Regions from separate parts of the Homo sapiens genome. Here all the other regions are linked to region 1. The links are contacts of gene promoters, found by promoter capture Hi-C in blood cells and fetal thymus (Javierre and others, 2016). All regions are on one chromosome and are shown on one strand. Each heading gives the region's core, a stretch centred on a gene start or on the middle of the fragment in contact. The rest is flanking DNA. Distances are from core to core; before and after follow the strand shown.

What was found. The method cuts DNA at HindIII sites, captures the fragments that hold promoters and counts their contacts. A CHiCAGO score of 5 or more calls a contact.
Region 2: a fragment that was not itself captured here is called in contact with the fragment with the promoter of LINC02054 in region 1 in 1 of 17 cell types (M2 macrophages); the score reaches 5.3 in M2 macrophages.
Region 3: a fragment that was not itself captured here is called in contact with the fragment with the promoter of LINC02054 in region 1 in 10 of 17 cell types (non-activated CD4 T cells, M0 macrophages, naive CD4 T cells and 7 more); the score reaches 8.8 in non-activated CD4 T cells.

The regions. Positions count from the first base shown.
Region 1 is chr3:184,400,118-184,402,817 of GRCh38, forward strand. It overlaps LINC02054 (long intergenic non-protein coding RNA 2054), which reads left to right and starts at 1,420. Exons shown (of 4, transcript NR_161199.1): 1 at 1,420-1,568. The HindIII fragment of the contact is 17,052 bases long and covers 1-2,700 here.
Region 2 is chr3:184,764,475-184,767,174 of GRCh38, forward strand. LINC02069 (long intergenic non-protein coding RNA 2069) reads right to left here. Exons shown (of 3, transcript NR_110043.1): 2 at 846-995. Among named protein-coding and RNA genes, the nearest start is that of LINC02069, 7.3 kb to the right of the region's middle. The HindIII fragment of the contact is 1,632 bases long and covers 626-2,257 here.
Region 3 is chr3:184,781,575-184,784,274 of GRCh38, forward strand. No RefSeq gene overlaps it. Among named protein-coding and RNA genes, the nearest start is that of LINC02069, 9.8 kb to the left of the region's middle. RefSeq lists an enhancer at 1-35. The HindIII fragment of the contact is 4,924 bases long and covers 1-2,700 here.

The DNA.
Region 1 (2,700 bases), core at 170-2,669:
GAATCATGCTTTTTAATTATAAAAATGTTTCCTTGAAGTAAAAAATTTTGGTTAAAAAATCAAACAACAAAACAAACTAGGAAAAATTCTTTGTGGAGAATACAGAGTTTTTTTTGGAGTTTTTCTTCTTTCTGTGTGTTTTGTTGAGTTTGCCTTGTGTTTATAGTTTTATATCTCTTTTCCTTGCTTGGCTCTATTACCGCACATATAAGTTTTGCCATAGATTGTCAGAATTTTAAGAGAAACGATGCTAGGCCAGGCATAGTGGCTCAATCCTATAATCCCAGCACTTTGGGAGGCTGAGGTGGGTGGATCACTTGAGGTCAGGAGTTCGAGACCAGCCTGGCCAACATGGCGAGACCCTGTCTCTACTGAAAATACAAAAATTAGTGGGGCGTGGTGGCAGGTGCCTGTAATCCCAGCTACTTGGGAGGTTGAGGCAGGAGAATAGCTTGAAACCGGGAGGTGGAGGTTGCAGTAAGCTGAGATTGCACCACTGCACTCTGGGGTGACAGGGCAAGACTCCTTCTCAAAAAAAAAAAAAAAAAGAAAGAAAGAAAAAGAAAAAAGAAAAGAGAAACGATGCCAGGTGGCTGTTCTCTTTGCACATCTGGATGAAGACCCAGAGGCTGGGGTGACACTAAAACTCCACAGCCTGAGCCCCATCCAGCTGATGGCAAAGCAGATACTTCACAACTGCGCCTTGGTGAGAAGTGAGTTTGGACACCCCAAATGAACTGCAGTTGGGAGCAGCTCCCAGCTCCAGCTCCAGCTCCCTGTTCATTTTCCAAGAGGTGGCAACAGCCAGAAGGAGTCTGAGATGTGACTCCCAGGGAGGAGGGGTCGCTCCTGAGGATCAGTCCAAAGTTGCTACAAGGCTGGACGCCCTCTCTCCATATAGCTGTGGTTACCTTAACAGTTTGCAATGTGTGTATTCATTTTGGTTGCCAAGAAGACTCAGCTGAGTAGATGTGGGCTCTGTAGACATTGTGAGAAGAAGGGAGGCAGGGAAGTGTGCTTTGCTAGTGACTTGGTTCTTGACCACCATCACCTCAGTTTTGTGACGACTTCCCGGAAATACGGCCAGCCTTGAACTGGCAGCAGTTTAGTAGAGTGGTATGAACCGAGAATGACACTTGTTAGCTGTGTGACTTTGGCAAGGCATTTGCCATGCCTGAGCCTCAGTTTGCTGCAACATGGTCTTAATGATGGTTACCTGCATGATTGTCACAAGGACCATAGAAAACGTATGTACATGCTTGGCGTATAGTTGGCACTGAATGCCGTCACTGTAATTGAATCTGACAATGGGTGTGAGAACCATTAGGGAGGGGTGAAATGCTCCCCATGCCCATGAAAAGGTGGAGGGGACTCAGTGCTCCGGCTTCTATTATGTGATGCGACAATAACTATTACTGTGGGCATGACCACAGCCTTTCTACCTTTGGCAGCCTGTCAAAGGGAATCTTCTGGAGCCAGCCTCTTCCCTCCTTTCCCACCCGAGAGAGGAAACATTCTTGCTGGGAATGAGGCTGTCAATCTACCTGATTAAGAGTGAGAGAAGAGAGGTGGGGTACAGCGGTGAGGGCTGTAGGGCTGGAGGGGGTGGGTAGGTGTGGAGGAGAAGTCTTCAGAGGCATGTGTGGGTGAGGGGGAGTGGAATGAGAGCAAAGAGATTCTAACATTCTGGGCTGTGTTTATAGGTCTTCTTTAATATTTTTCAAGATATGAATTAAGTGAAATTTCTCTTTCTTGGTAAAATATATATAACATAAAATTTACATTTTAAGGCTGGGTGTGGTGGCTCACGCCTGTTATCCCAGCACTTTGGGAGGCCGAGGTGGGTGGATCATGAGGTCAGGAGTTCAAGACTAGCATGGCCAAGATGGTGAAACTCCGTCTCTACTAAAAATACAAAAATTAGCTGGGTGTGGTGGTGGGTGCCTGTAATCCCAGCTACTTGGGAGGCTGAGGCAGAGAATTGCTTGAACCCGGGAGGCGGAGGTTGCAGTGAGCCGAGATCCAAACAGAAACTCTGTACCCATTAAATAATAACTTCTCACCCTACCTCCTCCAGCCCCTGGTAACCTCTATAACCTTGATTCTACTTTCTGTCTCTACACATTTGCTTATTCTCTATCCTAGACATCTTATATAAGTAGAATCATACAATATTTGTCATTTGTGTTGAGTTTATTTCGCTTAGCATAATATTTTCGAGGTTCATTCATGTAGTAATATGCATCAGAATCTCATTCCTTTTTAAGGCTAAATAATATTCCATTATATGTACAGTCATTCCTTAGTATCCATGAGGGATTGGTTCCAGGATCCCCGAAGATGTCAAAATCCAAGGATGTTCAAGTCTCTGATATAAAATGGCACAGTATTTGCATATAACCTACACCTATCCTCCATATACTTTAAATCCTCTCTACTTATAGTACCTAATACATTGTAAAACTATGTAAATTATTATGCTGTATCATTATTTATTTATTGTTATATTGTTACTTTTTCATTTTATTTTGTCTTCAATACATATACTTATTTTTATTTATTTATTTTTTTTTTTGAGATGGAGTCTCACTCTGTCGCCAAGGCTAGAGTGCAACGGCACAATCTCAGCTCACTGCAGCCTCTGCCTCCCAGGTTCAAGCTATTCTCCCGTCCCAGCCTCCTGAGTAGCTGGGATTACAG
Region 2 (2,700 bases), core at 192-2,691, 360 kb after region 1:
AATACTAAGAGATACTTTAAACCTATGTTCAAGAGAATTCTCCCTACTTTGGAACTTTGGGTCTGGCTTCCTGGGATTCCCCCAACATCTCCCCTAACCACTCCAGAGCAGCCTCCAGTCGCCACCACCACCACCACCCTCAAGCCAGAAGTCATTTTTTTTTTTTTTTGAGACGGAGTCTCACTCTGTTGCCCAGGCTGGATTGCAATGGCGCGATCTTGGCTCACTGCAACCTCTGCCTCTCGGGTTCAAGGAATTCTCCTGCTTCAGCTTGCCGAGTAGCTGGGATCATAGGTGCCTGCCACCACGCCTGGCTAATTTTTTGTATTTTTAGTAGAGACAGGGTTTCACCATGTTGGCCAGGCTGGTCTCGAACCCCTGACCTCAGGTGATCTACCTGCCTTGGCCTCCCAAAGTTCTGGAATTACAGGTGTGAGCCACCGCGCCTGACCCAGAAATCATCTTAAAACATTCCCTCAACAACCCTTTACCTTGATACAACACCTCATAGTCACCAAAGCATTCTTACATCCTCAGCCCATGGGTTCCTCCTCCCCACATCAGCCCTGGAAGGCAGGCAGCTCAGAGATTATTAAACCATTTTACAGATGAGGAAAATGAGACAAGCTTAGTGATGTTTGCAAGCCACATGGTTGGTGAGTCACGTTGGCTGCACTGTTAGATTTCAAGGCAGTGAGACCAGAAGGTAGCCTCGTATGGGGAGGGGTGGGATCTGGGTTGAGGCAGCCAAGGATTTGCATGAATTGGATGAGAGATCCCAGCTCCTCTGTGTCCAGAAAGTTTCACCTTGAGTCACCTGCCTTTCCCTCCCCGGGACACCGCACCTTCCCAACAGAGCAGTGTTGAGTCAGCTCCCCTTTTTCTGCCTCTCCGAGGTACTCTCAGCCATGCCCTCCTTCTGGCTTTCGTAGGATCTGACTCAAGATCCACTTTAGGCAGGCAGTATCTGTGGAACCTTCTCGTGTAGGGCCCACCTGTAAACAAGAGGAGGTGTTTGGAAATTATTCATGAAAGAAGAACACCATGAACAGCATTTGACCTCTTCAGAGAAAAGAGATATGCAAGTTTATAGCGGTAGTGGCGATAGTAATATCCAATGACATAACAACTTCAACAATTACACTTGCATTTCTTCCAAAGAGCTTTAAGCATTTTCGAGTTTATTGGGCTATTTGATCTCATAAAAGTCCCACAAATGGGTAGTGCTGGTTATTATTATCATTTTATAGATGAGAAAACTGAGGCCCGGAAATATGTCAGTGATTGCCCAAGACCTCGCAGCGAGGGAGGAGGGAGGTAGGGCTGAGTCTGTTTCTTCACGTCTCCAGGTGTTTCGTGTGTGGGACTCCCTCTTGGTGTCTGAATTCCTGTGAAGTAAGGTGTGGACAGAGGAGGTGGCTGGTGGCAGGCTCAGAGGATTTTTCTGCACATGGTCACTGAGAGACAGTGAGTCAGGCACCCTTATTTTGAGTTCGGTTTCCTCTTTCACTTCCCCAAACAATTTCTGGAGATGGAGTTCACTTGGCACCCGTTCTCAGATGATGAGCTGGGGGTATGTGCACAGCTGCCCCTGAAGGTTTTCGTGGTAGTGGTGATCTGGAAGGGGTGGATGCTCACATTCTTATCCTGAGACTCCTCCTGTTCTCCTGGTCTACCAATCCCCTCTCCAGGAGGGGGGTCCTTGCTAGCTCTGTCTGTTACCACGGCCTCCTCACTGTTTTTCTGACCTCAGTATCTTTCCTTTTTTTTTTTTTTTTTTTTTTTTTTTGAGATGGAGTCTTGCTCTGTCTCCCAGGATGGAGTGCAGCACCGTGATCTCGGCTCACTAGAACTTCTGCCTCCTGGGTTCAAGCGATTCTCCTAGCTCAGCCTCCCGAATAGCTGGGACTACAGGTGTGTGCCACCACTCTCAGTTACCTTTTCTATTTTTAGTAGAGACAAGGTTTTGTCATGTTGGCCAGGCTGGTCTCGAACTCCTCACCTCATATGATCCACCCACCTTGGCCTCCCAAAGTGCTGGGATTACAGGCATGAGGCACCGCGTCTGGCCTGACCTCAGTATCTTTTTCATTCAATCATCTCCATGACTGACCTTCCAAAAGCTCTCCCTCCACCTCTCAGAAATTGTCAGTAGAATCTCATTACTTCTGGCCTCAGCTTGGCACTCAAGGCCCCACCCAGTCAAGTCACAAACTACCTTCCCACCCTTGGCTCCTCCCTCTCATCCTCCTCTTGAAGCTTTATCTTCAGTTAGACTGGAGGATTTGCCTAGACATGCTTTGTGTTTTCCCAACTCCACAGTTCCCTTGGCTTGGAAAGCCACTCCCACCCCTCTGCCTGCTGGATTTCTATGCAGCCTTCAAAGCCCATGACAAATGTCACCTCTCTCATGAAGCCCTCCTTGATTCCATCATTGGAAAATGAGCTTCTCCCTCCTGGGATGTCTCACAGCACCTGGCATACAGGTCTCCACACAAGCAGTTCTCTGTGTGTTGTGGCAGTGGTGTCAAGATTTGGATGTTTGTGAAACTACAAAGACTGCAGGATTCGGCAATACCACTTGTGGGCATGTGTGTGCGTGTGTGTGTCTGTACGTGTGTGTGTGTGTGCGTGTGTGTGTGTTGGTATGAGGAGTGAGCACAGCTACATAAACAATTGTATGTCAGAAAGGGATGAGAC
Region 3 (2,700 bases), core at 180-2,679, 380 kb after region 1:
TTTACAGCTGCTTAACCTGGGGCAGGTCACCTCACCCCTCTGAACCTCAGGGCTGATATGAGACAACGTGCATGAAAGGTCACTACGTGGGCAACGCTGATATTATGATGCAGGTGAGGAGACGCAAGAGGCGGCATTCATTCCTTCATTCATTGCTACCTTGTTGTTAGAGATTTAAGGCAAGAGACACAACTGGAAAATGGACAAAGGAAAAATGATTTTGAGGATCTAGAGGATAAGATAAGGTCTGAGATTGTCTCAAGTGGGAATAAAGGAAGTAGAAGGGAGGGTGGCCCTGTAAAGTCAGGCGACCTCTACCTCAAGGTGAGGAGGAGAATGCAGCGGAGGAGGCCCTAGAGGACCTGGTACAGGATCAGTTGGAGAAGTGGGAGGGGCAGAGGGCTGCACATTCCTAATGAGCTTGCCCGCTAATCCCAGAGGGTTGCTGCACTGGGAAAGCACAGGCGGAGACCTCCTAAGATGTCTGGAATATCAAATAACATGGCAGAATGTGAGGCAAATAAATGAGTCAAAAACTTGGACTCTTATAACTCTGCAAATAATTCTTTTTTTTTTTTTTTGAGATGGAGTCTTGCTCTGTCACCCAGGCTGGAGTGCAGTGGCATGATCTCAGTTCACGGCAACCTCTGTCTCCTGGGTTCAAGCATTTCTCCTGCCTCAGCATCCCAAGTAGCTGGGAGTACAGATGCAAGCCACCAGGCCCAGCTAATTTTTATATTTTTAGTAGAGACAGGGTTTCACCATGTTGGCCAGGCTGGTCTCGAACTCCTGACCTCAAGCGATCCACTCGCCTTGGCCTCCCAAAGTGTTGGGATTACAGGTGTGAGCCACCGCGCCTGGCCTCTCTGCAAATAATTCTGACACCTGGGAGTTGCACTTTGTATATCATGCTTTTATATGCAAAGGACTTGTTTCAGCATGTCTGTTCCACTTCCTTGAATAGTGCAAGGGCAGTGGCAGTGCCAAGGAGTGGCTTGGAGAGGTATGTTTTATGCCCCTCATCTTCATGAATCACCCCCGCCTCCCCCCCTCAAAAAAACAACTAAAAATCATGTTTTTGACATGGGCGGGGGATGTCTTCTTACTCTTATGGAAAATGTGAGTACAAGCCCCTTTAGAAAAATTACTGTAAAGCATCAGATGAAGGCCGAGTGTGGTGGCTCACGCCTGTAATCCCAGCACTTTGAGAGGCCAAGGCAGGTGGATCACCTGAGTTCAGGAGTTCGACACCAGCCTGGCCAAGACAGTGAAACCCCGTCTCTACTAAAAATACAAAAGTTAGCTGTGCATGGTGGCAGGCGCCTGTAATTCCAGCTACTCTAGAGGCTGAGGCACGAGAATCGCTTGAACCCAGGAAGCAGAGGTTGCAGTGAGCCAAGATGGCACCACTGCACTCCAGCCTGGGTGACAGAGCAAGACTCCATCTCAAAAAATAAAAATAAGATAAATCAGTTGAATTCTACCACAGCTTTGAGACAAGTCCCTGGCCCTGCTTCCAACCAGATTGCTGTTTCTAAGTTTCTCCCAGGCAGACACCCTAGAGTCCCAGCTCCAAAGGTACTCCGCAACGAACAGAGTGGCCAGGAGGTGCTGGAGGAAGGGAAAGCCCTGTGTGGTCAGGAGTTCACGGGCAGTGGGGATTTTCAGCTGAGCTGGACACAGGGAGGGCAGAGGCAGACTTCCCTCGGAGAGGAGGGCAGAGACAAAGCCTAAGGCAATGGGAGCAAGTCTGGCTGTTCAGGGAGGCCCGGGGTTGGTCTGCTCAAAGGGAGGGTGTCTGGAAAGGAGGAGTAGGAGGTGAGGATGGAGAGATGGTGGTGCCGGATCAAAGGAGGCGTAAGTGCTGGGCGAAGGAAGCAGATCTGTGTCCCTGAGCAGGACCCAGCAGGAGGCTTCCATGCCAAAGAAAGTTTGGGTGAAAATAGGATTTTAGGAACATTAGTCATATATAGAATAAACTGGAGGATGGGGGAGGACCAGTCAGGAAGGTCAGTTAGGAGGTTTTGGCTGTGAGTCCCGCATGAGATGTAAGGACCTAGCCTAGCCGTGTATGGCATAGAAATAAAAGAACAGGCCCGGTATGGTGGCTCACTCCTGTAATCCCAGCACACTGGGAGGCCAAGGCAGATGGATCACCTGAGGTCAGGAGTTTGAGACCAGCCTGGCCAACATGGTGAAACACTGTCTCTACTAAAAATACAAAAATTAGCCAGGTGTGATGGCGTGCGCCTATAGTCCCAGCTACTCGGGAGGCTGAGGCAGGAGACTCACTTGAACCTGGGAGGCGGAGGTTGTGGTGAGCCGAGATAGCACCACTGCACTCCAGCCTGGGGGACAGAACAAGACTCCATCTCAAAAAAAAAAAAAGAAAAAGAAAAGAAAGAAAAGAATAAATAAGGCCGGGCACAGTGCCTCATGCCTATAATCCTAGCACTTTGGGAGGCCGAGGTGGGCAGATCACAAGGTCAGGAGTTTGAGACCAGCCTGACAAACATGGTGAAACCCTGTCCCTACTAAAAAAAAAAAATACAAAAAATTAGCTGGACATAGTGGTGGGCGCCTGTAATCCCAGCTACTTGGGAGTCTGAGGCAGGAGAATCTCTTGAACCTGGGAGGTGGAGGTTGCAGTGAGCCGAGATCGTGCCACTGCACTCCAGCCTGGGCGACAGAGTGAGACTC